4 separate regions of the Homo sapiens genome follow, and all the other regions are linked to region 3. The links are contacts of gene promoters, found by promoter capture Hi-C in human tissues and cell types (Jung and others, 2019). All regions are on one chromosome and are shown on one strand. The core of a region is centred on a gene start or on the middle of the fragment in contact, and the rest is flanking DNA. Distances in the headings are between cores, read along the strand shown.

Region 1 (3,063 bases), core at 329-2,828, 240 kb after region 3:
CCCTGGGACAATAGGCAGAATCATACTCTCCTGGGCAAAACCTTGCCAGGAGGAATTTTCTTTTTGTCCATATAAATCTCTTGTCGGTGAGGACACGATGGGGGAGGGGTACAGCAAGAGGTCAAGGGGGAGGAGAAACTGTCCCGAGAGAACTGTAGTACATCAGCCTAGTCTCTGCCTGCACAGCCTTGGGACCTGCCAGGCGATGAGCTGGGGGTCAGGGACGGGGGCGGGAGGCCTCCCTGTCTCTCTTTAATTCCTAGAGGGATCTGTCAGAGCTCCCCGGCCTGGAATTCTACTTTGTTATTTTAATGCAATTCTGACCTGGATTTAAATGGAATTGGAAACCCGAGGCCTTAATAAATAAATATTATGATAAGAAATGAAAGCCATGCAAGACGAAAGAGATTTCACCCCAAAGAGGCAGAAACGCAACATTCCTGTCGGGAGCCAGTCACAGAAATTTTCTTCTCTTCTTCAGCCCCCTACCATCCGGTGAGAGATGAGTTGATTTTTCCATAAAAGATCCTATTTTTCTTCAACATTTTTCCACTGATAAGGCATCAACTTAGAAATGTCTAACTTTGCATGCGGGTTGGGGGTAAGGGAAAGAAATATACGGCACGGCTGAAAAGTTTTCATTATTCCCTCAGTCTCTCCAGGCCACAGCGTAAGTTTCTGGCAATGTTTGAGAGAAGAGAAAATTCTCTCTCAGATTTTGGAAGACAAGAAGTCTTTCGAAGATGCTGGGAGTGGATGAAGTCGAGCGGAATTCTGAGGCGCGTGGTCTCTTCTGCCCACCGCCCCCAAGAGTTTCTCACTCCTCTCTGCCGCCCCCAGCTTGTCCGGCTTTTCGCTCGGGGCGCAGCGCCCAGCGGTCGGGCCCCTGGCCGGGGAGTCCGGGTGCACAGAGCCGGGTTCTGACAGCAGCACGCTCCCCAGCACCTGCCCTGCCCCTCGGGAATCGCTCCTAGGCCCTGAGGCCCAGCAGCCAGGACAGCCCCCAGGCCGCGCGCCCCTCCTTCCTTACCTTGCGCGGCTTTGCTGTACTGGGCGGCGCGGGCGTGGACCAGCAGGACAAGCAGGCAGAGCCCGGGTACGCGCCCCGAGCCCATGGCTGGAGCTACTGGCGGCCCAGCCGCCGGGGCCGGTCTCGCGGCCAGGGGAGGGCGGAAGCCGGCCGGATCCCAGCTCGCAGGAGGGGGAGGGGAGGGGGCGCCCCGCCGGGGCCAGGCCGGGGGCTGCAGTCGCGGGGCGCGGACCGCGGCGCCCTCGGCGCGAGGCTCCCGATGCTACCGGCTCCTCCTGGCCGGACGTCGGGGAGAGCGAGGCGGAGAGTGCGACGAGGCGAGGGGCGCCAGGGGCGACTGACGGAGGGGAACCCCCGCCCTCTCCAAGCCGGCCTCTGCCAGCGGCGGCGGCGGGGCTGCTCCGTGTAATCCCACCCAATTCCCAGCTTCGCCGGGAGAGAGCTGCAGCCGGAGAGCGCGCAGAGCCCGAGCGAAGGACCTGAGAAAGGGGAGGGGAAACGCAGCGCCAGAAACACGCCCTTTCTGCCTCTCTTTCTTCCTCTCTCGCTCTTTCTCCGTCTCTCAGGCTCTTTTTCTTCGCCTTTCTCCTCCTCCTCCTCTTTCTCCTCCTCTCCTCGCTCCTTTTCGTTTTCTTCCTCCTCCCCCTCCTCCTCCTCCTCCTCCTCCTCCTTCTCCACCACCTCCTTTTTCGTGCCCTTTTTTCTTTCAAATGGGGCCTCGGCGCGGTGGCCGCTCCCCCTGCGCGCCCGGGCGCGGTGGCCCCCTCCCCAGGCTGCCGGGCCGCTGCCTGCAGGAATTTACAATCCGGCGATGGGGGAGCGGGCCTGGTCTCCATGGAGACGGCTTCCCCGGGAGCAGGGAGGTCAGGCGCAGACCGCGCGCAATCAATGGATCAATGCAAGCTCCGCTCGGCTCCAGACCAAACAGCACCGGGCTCCGACTCGTCCTCGCTCCCCTAGGAAAGAGTCGGGGAGCGAGGGTGCGTCCCCGCGCTCGCTCGCGAGGACGGCCGTGCGGCGCCAGGTTTGAACGCACACCTCCACCCGAGACAAAGAGGGTGCGAGGTGTTGGGGAGGCTGGGGCAGACGTGGACACACGGACACACGGGCACTCGGGCGTGTCCACCGACACAGCCTGACAGGGGACATAGGACCTCGGAACACACCGCCTCCGACACCAGGCCGAGTAACAACCTCTCAACTTTTACACCTACCACACCCCCAACCTCAAGACTCAGTCCCCATTCCTAGATGCGAGTCCACTTTGAGGACCAAAAAGAAAGTAGCCTCCGCCTGCTAAAACTGCCAGCTCCAGGGCAGACTCCCTTGCAGTTAAGGCCTTGGAGGTAAGCCTAATGAACCACCCTACCCGCAGAGACATGGACTCACATACAGACACTCTCATGTGGTCAGCACAGGGGCGAAAGCTACCCCACAGAATCATGTCTATGTGTATAAACACAGAGACATAGAGACAGGTACAAGAGGCTCCTCCAAACCTGCACCCCGCTTCAAGAGGTGGTCCTGACTGGTCCATTCTGAACCCTTCATCCTTCCAACTGAGGGGAAGCAGAGGAAAGAGAAAGGATATTTTTAAAACAGGGGCAAACCGCAGAAGGAGCAGGGTCTTCCAACCATGGATGCTGCCTCTTGACTGTTCACCCACTCTGTATCTTCTTTCCTTCCATTGTAAGGGAAAGAGGAAAGACCTCTTGAAAGGCTATGAAGACTTTCTTGGAGTGTGAGGCTGTGTTCAGAATGAGACCAGGCCAGGTCCAGTTTTCTACAGGGAAGATGCTGCTAGGACCCAGACTAGCCTCACAGAGCCCTCAGCGTACCCAGGAGGAAGAGGCAATGACCAAGATCTCCTCAAAGGTGATTCAGTTCTGAGACCTTCCATATTGGCTGCCCACATCAGCTGGGGCAAGGGGAGGACTTTGTTGGCAATGGTGCTGTCCACCAGGGAGAAGAGCTGAGCCCTTCCTTTCCTAGGGATTCAGTGGAAAAGTAGGATGGAAACAGACTCAAACTTC
Region 2 (3,145 bases), core at 227-2,726, 130 kb after region 3:
AATCTACACTGCTCTAGCCATACCCCATTCCCTTCTCAGAGAAAAGCCTGGCATTGATTAGATACCAGGCCTGACTAATACTGGCAGCAGAACTAGTGATAGATAGTAACTTGCCTGACAGAGGAACCTTCTTCTGGATTGGCAATTTTGATCTGGGCCCTGGACCTCTTGCACATTTTTTTTCTTTTTTTTTTTTTTAAGATGGATTCTGACTCTGTAGCCTAGGCTGAAGTGCAGTGGCATGATCATAGCTCATTGCAGCCTTGACCTTCGCATGCACCACACCTAGGTAATTAAAAAAAATTGTTTTTAAATTTTTGGTAGAGATGGGGTCTCACTACGTTGCCAAGGCTGGTCTCCAACTCCTGGCCTCAAGGGATCCTCCCACCGTGGCCTCCCCAGTAGCTGGGACTCTAGGCACATGTCTCCACACCTAATTTTTTTTTACTTTTTGTAGAGACATGGCTCACTATTTTGCCCAGGCTGGCTTTGAACTCCTGGCCTCAAGTGATCCTCCCACCTTGGCCTCCCAAAATGCTGGGATTACAGGCATGAGCCACTGCATCCAGCCACCTTGCACATTTTTAAGATGACATATAGTATTTTTCATCATTAGTTTAAAACATAATAGTTACCAGCCAGATGCGGTGGCTCATGCTTGTAATCCCAACACTTTGGGAGGCCGAGGTGGGTGGATCACTTAAGCCCAGGAGTTTGAGATTAGCCTGGGCAACATGGTGAAACCTTGTCTCTACAAAAATACAAAAATTAGCCAGTCTCATAACCCAGTCTCAAAATAAATAAATAGATTAAAATTTAAAATAAAATTAAATTAAAAAAATAAAAAAAAAACAAAAAGCAATAGTTACAGAGGATAGGATGCATACAATTTCTGTCTTTTTTTTTTTTTTTTTTTTTTTGAGATAGTGTCTCACTCTATCACCCAGTCTGGAGTGCAGTGGCACGATCACAGCTCACTGCAGCTTCAACCTCCTGGGCTCAGGTGATCCTCCCACCTGAGCCTCCTAAGTAGCTGGGACTACAGGTGTCTGCTACCACACCCGGCTAACTTTTTTTTGTATTTTTTGTAGAGATGGGTTTTCGCCATGTTGCCCAGGCTGGTCTCAAACTCCTGAACTCAAACAATCCACCCACCTTGGCCTCCCAAAGTGCTGGGATTACAGGTGTGAGCCACTGCACCCAGCTGCCTTTATTAAAAAGTAAAGGCCATCCCAAATCCCAGCTCCTACCTAAAACTTCCTTTTCTCTGAATTCCTACAGCACTTTGAGCTTCACCGCTCATCCTTGAAATCTGCCTCATTATATTAGCAGCTTTGTTTCACGACACTTTAAATAGACTGTAATGAAGTTCCTTGCAATCAGGTTTAGTGTATTTGCAAAGTAAATCAGGTGCAGTGGCTCACACCTGTAATCCCAGCAATTTGGGAGGCTGAGGCGGGCAGATCACTTGAGGCCAGGATTTCGAGACTAGCCTGACCAACGTAGTGAAACCATGTCTCTACTAAAAGTACAAAACAACAAAAAAATGCCAGGTGTGGTGGCACACGCCTGTAATCCCAGCTACTCCAGAGGTTGAGATAGGAGAGTCGTCTGAACCTGGGAGGTGGAGGTTGCAGTGAACCAAGATCAGGCACTGTGCTCCAGCCTGGAGACTGATCAGGCACTGTGCTCCAGCCTGGAGACTGATCAGGCACTGTGCTCCAGCCTGGAGACTGATCAGGCACAGTCTCCAGCCTGGAGACTTGGTTTCAAAAAATCAGATAGCACATAAACTCCAGGAAGGCAGGGACTCTGTTTTTGTTCTGTACAATATAGCCAGAAGCTGGCATATAATAAGAGCTTAATAAACATTTGTTGAATGAGGGCAGAGTGCATTGGCTCCTGCCTATAATCCCAGCACTTTGGGAAGCTGAGGCGGGAAAACTGCTTGAGCCCGGGAGTTGGAGGCCAGCCGAGTTTTGTAGAGACCCTGTCTCTTGTAGGGACCTGGAAAACGAATGAACTTGAATTTCAGCTGCTCTATAACTTTTTAGCTTTGTGACACCTGAATTATTCACTTCAGAATTTATTCATTCATATATGTATTTGACAAATATTTGTTGCATGCCTTCTAAGAGCCAATCACCGTGGCTCTTAGTTCAAGAAGATATGTCCCTGCCCTTGAGGGGCTCAAGCATTTAGTTATGAAGGCTGTTACAAGGATGGGGGAAAGGAAGTCAGTGTGAGGCCTAGAGGGAGCTGCAAGTAGCTCTATAAGGCAGAGGCATAGGAGGCCCTCCTGGGACAGATCGCCATGGGCCTCATCTGCCACATATGGGAATGTGAATTTAAATATCAAAACTCTAGGATACCACCAAGGGACTGGAAATTAGGAAGAGTGAAGGACAAATCTGCATTTTAGAAATCCTATCCAGGTGGCAATGGGGAGAGGGGTTGACAAGGAGACCTGGTTACTGCTCTTATCTAGTTGGGAAGTGACAAGAGCCAGAATAAGGCAGTAGCCATGACAGACATGGCCTCAAAAGTGTGGATCTGAGAGTAACCAAGGAAGTCCAATCAGTTGGACTTGGTGAGATGGGCAAGACGGAGGAGGAGTTAAAGGTTAACAACCAGGTAGAAAACACAAAGGCCTCAGCCATGGCAGTAGCCATGGGGATGGAAAAGGAGGGACAGATAGGAGAGTAGGAAGGAGAGAGTCTATTGGATTTGATGATGGGGTTTGGATGAGGGGGCTGAGAGAGAGGACATGAATCTTCCTAAATACCCAGATCTCTGTCTTGGCTAACAAGGTCAGCGAGTCAGAGATGATGGGAAGAAAAGCAAGTCTGAAAGGCTTTGGTAAAGTTGCCAAATCTCTCTGAACCTCAATTCATCCATTTGTAAAATGCCAATGGTGATTTCCAGCTCTAAGAGTTGTCATGAGAATTAAATAACCTGGAAAACTGCAGTAGACACTCAATAAACACTTTTGGCTGATTCTAATAATGGTGCTTGCTCGTGTGCCACTTAATCCTCATATAACCCTATATGGTAAGTACAGTCATTATCTCTATTTTACCAACGTGGGAACTGAAACACAGAGATATAAAGAAAATTGACCAAAGTCAATCAGTTAGTAAGTAGC
Region 3 (3,199 bases), core at 558-3,057:
TTGCAGTGAGCCAAGATTGCGCCACTGCACTCCAGCTTGGGCAACAGAGCAAGATTCCGTCAAAAAAAAAAACAAAACAAACAAAAAAAACCTAAGTTTAAAAGATGGCTAATTTGTGGTGGGGAGGATATTTGGGGGTAGAGAGATAGGGAAGACCCTACTCCAGGAAATTTTAACCTGTTTTAGTGCCAGAGACCTGTGATCAGAATGAGTGTTAAATGCATTTGATAAAATATCTAGGATTATAAAGGAAATCAATTGTGCTGAAATACTCTTCTATCCAGGGGCCCCAGGTTAAGGCCCTGCCCTCTCCTTACTCTATCCAGAATAAGCCAGATAGCTGGGCAAACATTTCTATAGCTTCCAATTTGGGGATTCAGACAAGTTCTCCTGACCCATCTCCTGAAAGAAATTCAAAGTGGAGTGTAGGAAGAAAATATTGGAACTCCCATTTTCCCCTATTTATCTAAAACATAAGAAATTAAGCATTAGAAATATTTAGCATCTGGATGGTTTCCAGCATAAATTATGGGGGAGGGGTATCCAAGAGGAGTGGAAGGCTGGCCCCACTAGGAGCTGAACATGGCACCTCACCCACTCATTTTTCTGTGTGTTTTAGTTAACTTTGCTAGTTAAGTGCATCTGTAGATACTGTACTCTTTTTTTTTTAAGCAAAAGTTGTCCTCACAAATAAGCACGTGGCTTAAAAGAATGCCTGCCAAAAAATTGGAGATAATATCAATAACAGAAACACAACCAAATAAAATGGCAGGGCCGACACCTCTGCTCCTAGTAGGAATCCTTCGTCAGCCACAGAGAGGTTAAAAAAAAAGTTCAATGTCATCCAAGAGCCAGAAATTATCAAGAACACTAAAATATGGATTCACAGTTACCATTCTTAGAGAAAGCAATCTTGCCTTAAAGTGAACGTTATGCTTTGAAAAGCAGAGCATACAGCCACCAGGATAGCGGATACGTATTCCACCATCACGTTTTAAGTATCTATTTTTGTACTTTAAAATGTACGTATTTTAACACATGTGTACACTTTATACATAAGTATACTTACACTGGACGTACGAGTCCAGTTTTTTAGAGATGGAAGTACGCGATCAAAAGTGATTTGCCTCCACTTATCATCACTATACCTTACAGCGAACAGAAGGCGTGTGCCTCGAGTTCCCGGATCCTCGATGTCCCGCACACAGCAAGTGCTCAGTGAAGGGTGCCCCTGCTCATAGGGTGCGCGGCAGGCCGTCGCTGAAGGGGCTTATTTCACCTCTGTGTGTGTCGTTCCCCCGACAGCCCCCCGCCTCCCATACCTGCTAAGGGGCCGCGGGCGAGGACTTACAGCTCCAGACGGCCGTCAGGCCCCTGCACGACCGGCTCCTCCCGGCACAGGGCCTCGAGCAAGCGACCCCAGTCGAAGGGCTCCCAGCCGCGGCTGCCCAGCGCCCGGAGCACCCCCAGGCCGCGCCGCGCCCCCTCAGGCCCCGCCTGCAGCGCCTGCAGCAGGAGGCGGGCGGGGGCCTCCAGCTGCGCCCAGGGCGCCGGCTCCACGCCCTCAGCCCCAGGGAGCCCCGCGTCCGGTGTCGCCATGCCGGGGCACGGGTGCCGCGCCGCCCCCTACTCTGGTGTGGGGCCTCAGCTCAGAGGCTGAGGGGAACGGAGGACTCCAGCGCCGTCCCTGACGCGGCGGTGGCGGGCCAGCTCCAGCGCCTGTTACAAGCTCTCCTCGGCGTTGGGAGACCGGAGAAACCCGGCCGCCCGAAGCCGCAGCCGTTCCCGCGCTGTCGGAAAGGGAAGGAGGGAGGCGCGGCCGGGGGCGGAGCCTGAACGTGAGGCCGGCGCGAGGGCCGGTCGCAAGGGGCAGGGCCGGGCACAAGTCCAGCCGGAGTAGGTGGGCGGGGCCAAGGCCTGGGGCGTGCCCATGGGAGGGGGCGTGGACAAAACAAGTGGTTAGTTTGTGGGCGGTGTCGGGCCAGGGAGCCTGGAGCGGGGCGGGGGCGGGGGTTGATGGAGGGGTGGATCCGCCGCTGACGACCCCAACCCTCTCCCTTTCTTCATCACTCCCCAAAGTAGTGGAATGGAGTGGATGTCAGGGGTTCTGTTGTGCTAGAGGACCCGCGCTGTATTTACGCTGACGGCATGTTGCTTGTCATGGACTTCACCATAGAATTTGACCACAATTTACCACCCCACTTAGCTTCATCTCTTCCACAGGCCAAAAGTGCTATCATTTGGGTTTCAGTCCTCTCCAGAAATAGTATTTGATATACAAACATCCCTGAGAATGACATGGTCACAGTAAAACCTAACACTATTAATACGGCCAAAGACTTTCTTCTGAACTTCCTCCCAAAGACCAAGCAGTAACCTTGCTCTGGGTCGTTTATAGGGGGCCAGGTGTGGCTCCACTTCCTAGGGTTCAGTTTAAGGAAGTCCGCTGGAGAACTTGGCTTCCAGCCAAGGGTGGGATCACTGCAAAGCGTAGGAAATAAGCGAGAAGAGCCCCACAGTGCCTCCTAAACCTTGCTTTGGGGGCTAGCTTGTATTTCCTGTCCCAGCTCTGCTGCCACACACAGCCCTTCATTCAGGAAATGTTTACTGAGCACCTAGGGACTGGGGATACTGGGAACAAAACAAAGATCCTGGCCCTCATTGTCACACAACTGGGGAGAGACGGAAAGCTAATTAAACAATGTTTGTGATGTGTTCAAAAAGAACATAACACCGACACACAGCACGAAGTGCTTTTAAATAGGGTGGTCAGGCAAGATGAATGTGAAGATGAGGTTGGCAAGCCAGATAGAAGTCTGTGAGAAGACCATTTCAGTCCTCCCTGTGGAGGGCGGGGGGGCTCTGGGGCAAAAGCATGGCTGGAACGGAGGGCACTTGCTGGATAGTAATAGGAGTTGAGATCAGAGTGGGAACCAGGTCAGATCTTAAGAGGCCTGAGGTCACAGAAAGGAGTTGGGCTTTCACTCTGAATAGTATGGAAAGCCATGGGAGTATCTTGAGCTTGATCTGATCTCCATTTGAGCCAAAATGATTTCAAGGGAGATGTCGGGAAAGACTAGTGATATTTCTTAGATAATGGCTGCTTTGCAAATGCCAAAATAGCAAGAAAGAAGTTTCTTCCAGACACCTTCTGTTTCAGGTAAGCAGCTCTAACTTTACAGGGGATGTTTTGGGTCTT
Region 4 (3,007 bases), core at 28-2,527, 180 kb after region 3:
TAGCTCTGCAATGACCTGAGCTGTGTATAGGGGAGAGACAGACTGGGAGAGCGGAAGGTGAGAAAAGAGTGAAGACAGAAGGGAGCACTCTTGACTCTCCCAGAACTAGGAGCAAATCCAGTTCTGTTTGCTGCAATTTTTTTTCTTTTTTTTTTTGAGATGGAGTCTTGCTCTCACGCCCACGCTGGAGTGCAATGACACAATCTCGGCTCACTGCAACCTCCGCCTCCTGGGTTCAAGTAATTCTCCTGCCTCAGCCTCGTGAGCAGCTGGGATTACAGGCATGCACCACCACGCCCGGCTAATTTTTTTGTATTTTTAGTAGAGACGGGGTTTCACCATGTTGGTTAGGCTGATCTCGAACTCCTGACCTCTTGATCCGCCCACCTTGGCCTCCCAAAATGCTGGGATTACAGGCGTGAGCCACTGCACCCGGCCTGCTGCACTTTTAAATAAACTTAACCCATTACTGGTCCTGATGCAGGAAAACAACCCTTCACCTTTGCAATATATCGATGTGTTTCTTAATGTTAAAACATAAATTGTAATTATTGAGGAGAGAGAACATTTAGAAAAACCTTTTATTTATTTAGAGACAGGATCTCATTTTGTTGCCCAGGTTGGCATGCAGTGATCATAGCTCCTGTAAACTCAACCTCCTGGGCTCAAGCGATCCTCTTGCCTTAGCCTCCTGAGTGGCTGGGACTATAGGTGTGTGCCACTACTCCCAACTTTTTAGATACTTTGGATCTTTAGGTCTCTCCATGAATCAAGATGTGCTTAAACTGCCTCCTCAAAGGAGAAAAATAAGGGATGTGAAAGATAGGAAACTAAAGAGTAGCCATGGTTTTTGTGTTTTTCCACTTTATCATGGTTGAGACCTACTGCGCTCCACACACAAGCTGGGCTGTGCTGACTACAGGCACCTGTTCGCTATTCTATTGTCTTCTGCCAACCAGAACTCTGGACAGTTGGAACAAGGCTTTCTGTACTCTGCCTCAGCCAGCCCAGAGGGCAACTGTATTTAGAAGCCAAAAAAAGAAAACAACAACAAAAACATTTGCCTGAAAAGAATGTTCAATTTTGATTAGCAAAAATAATTATGACTTAATCTTCACTTAGAAACTTCTTCATTTGTAAACATAGAAAACTTCTCATGAGAAAAAAGACACATTAGTTTGGGAGGGATGAAGGCTGATGAAGATGAGTGGCAAACAAATCAGAACCAGATTTGGAAAAGTTGCAGTAAAATGATTCAATGTTTATTATAGAAAAATACTTCACTACACGCAGAAAAACCTAGTGAACAGGCCTGGTTCTGTGGGTTTCTAAACACTGAAGAGAAAACAGGAAATTAGTAACACAAACTTGCACTAACATAAGTTTTAAACAGCTAAAACACATCTTTGCATAAAGCATATTGCTTTTTTTCTTCAATTTTTTTTTTCTTCTTTTTAAAAGAAGAAGCGCCATTTAAAAGAAATCCCAGCACTTTGGGAGGCTGAGGTGGGAGGATCCCTTGAGCCCAGGAGTTTGAGACCAGCCTGGGCAACATAGTGAGACCCCCATTTCTTTTTTTTTTTTTTTTGTGAGATGGAGTCTCCCGGGTTCAAGCAATTCTCCTGCCTCAGCCTCCTGAGTAGCTGGGATTACAGGCATGCACCACCATGCCCATCTGATTTTTGTATTTTTAGTAGAGATGGGGTTTCACCATGTTAGTCAGGCTGGTCTTGAACTCCTGACCTCATGATCTGCCTGCGTTGGCCTCCCAATGTACTGGGATTATAGGTGTGAGCCATTGTGCCTGGCCCTGACTTGGGCTTTAAAAATCAATGTCTGGCCAGGTGCAGTGGCTCACGCCTATAACCCCAGCACACTGGGAGGCTGAGGCAGGCAGATCATTAGAGGTCAGGAGTTCGAGATCACCCTGGCCAACATGGCGAAACCCCATCTCTACTAAAAATACGAAAATTAGCCAGGTGTGGTGGTGCACGCCTGCAATCCCAGCTACTCAGGAGGCTGAGGCAAGATAATCGCTTGAACCTGGGAGGTGGAGGTGGCAGTGAGCTGAGATCACACCACTGCACTCCAGAGTTCACTGGGCAACAGAGTGAGACTCGTTTTTTTTTTGTTTTTTGTTTTTTGTTTTTTTTCTGAGACAGAGTCTCACTCTGTTGCCCAGGCTAGAGTGCAGTGGTGCGAGCTCAGCTCATTGCAACCTCCACTTCCTGGGTTCAAGCGATTCTCCTGCCCCAGCCTCCAGAGTAGCTGGGATTACAGGTGCGCGCCACCAGGCCCGGCTAATGTTTTTGTATTTTTAGTACAGACAGGGTTTCGCCATGTTGGCCTGGCTGGTCTCGAACGCCTGACCTCAAGTGATCCACCTACCTTAGCCTCCCAAAGTGCTGGGATTACAGGCATGAGCCACCATGCCCAGCCGAGACACCGTCTTAAAAAAATCAATGTGAGGCTGAGGTCAGGTGCAGACACCGTCTCTACAAAAATAATTGCCAGGCATGGTGGCACATGGCTGTGGTCCCAGCTACTCGGGGGCTGAAGTGGGAGGAACATTCAAGCCCAGGAAGTTGAGGCTTTGGAGAGCCATGATTGTGCCACTGCACTTCAACCTGTGTGACAAAGCAAGACCCTGTCTCAAAAGAAAATGAAAAACATCAATCTACTTCTTTTCTAATTCATGCTGGCATAAACACCAAGGTGGAGAACTGCCTTAAGAAGTTTTCTTCCTTTAACTACCAGAAGTCCAACTACCTCTTGGATATATATATGTGCATATACATACACACACACACACACACACACACACACACACACACACACACAGAAACAGGGTCTTGCTCTGTCACCCACACTACAAGTGCAACGGCATGATCATAGCTCACTGCAACCTTGAACTCCTAGACTAAAGTAATCTTCTTGCCTGAGACTCTCAAATATCTGGGACTACAGGTGTGCACTACCAAGCCTGGCTAATTTATTTATTTACTTA

The links. The method cuts DNA at HindIII sites, captures the fragments that hold promoters and counts their contacts. A contact is called where the count stands out against the background at its distance.
Region 1: a contact is called between the fragment with the promoter of SCUBE3 here and the fragment with the promoter of FANCE in region 3, in 1 of the 25 tissues and cell types used here (adrenal gland).
Region 2: a contact is called between a fragment that was not itself captured here and the fragment with the promoter of FANCE in region 3, in 1 of the 25 tissues and cell types used here (lymphoblastoid cells).
Region 4: a fragment that was not itself captured here is called in contact with the fragment with the promoter of FANCE in region 3 in 1 of the 25 tissues and cell types used here (spleen).

Annotation. Positions count from the first base shown.
Region 1 is chr6:35,212,471-35,215,533 of GRCh38, reverse strand. SCUBE3 (signal peptide, CUB domain and EGF like domain containing 3) reads right to left here and starts at 1,578. Exons shown (of 22, transcript NM_152753.4): 1 at 1,031-1,578. The coding sequence starts at 1,115. It overlaps LOC112267955 (a long non-coding RNA gene), which reads left to right and starts at 1,854. Exons shown (of 3, transcript XR_002956343.1): 1 at 1,854-2,905. RefSeq lists a silencer at 1,445-1,554. The HindIII fragment of the contact is 11,734 bases long and covers 1-3,063 here.
Region 2 is chr6:35,321,919-35,325,063 of GRCh38, reverse strand. No RefSeq gene overlaps it. Among named protein-coding and RNA genes, the nearest start is that of PPARD, 19 kb to the left of the region's middle. The HindIII fragment of the contact is 4,973 bases long and covers 1-3,145 here.
Region 3 is chr6:35,450,946-35,454,144 of GRCh38, reverse strand. It overlaps FANCE (FA complementation group E), which reads right to left and starts at 1,807. Exons shown (of 10, transcript NM_021922.3): 1 at 1,352-1,807. The coding sequence starts at 1,599. RefSeq lists a silencer at 1,257-2,156. The HindIII fragment of the contact is 29,524 bases long and covers 1-3,199 here.
Region 4 is chr6:35,272,304-35,275,310 of GRCh38, reverse strand. All of the region lies in intron 1 of ZNF76 (zinc finger protein 76), which reads right to left. Among named protein-coding and RNA genes, the nearest start is that of ZNF76, 14 kb to the right of the region's middle. The HindIII fragment of the contact is 4,724 bases long and covers 1-3,007 here.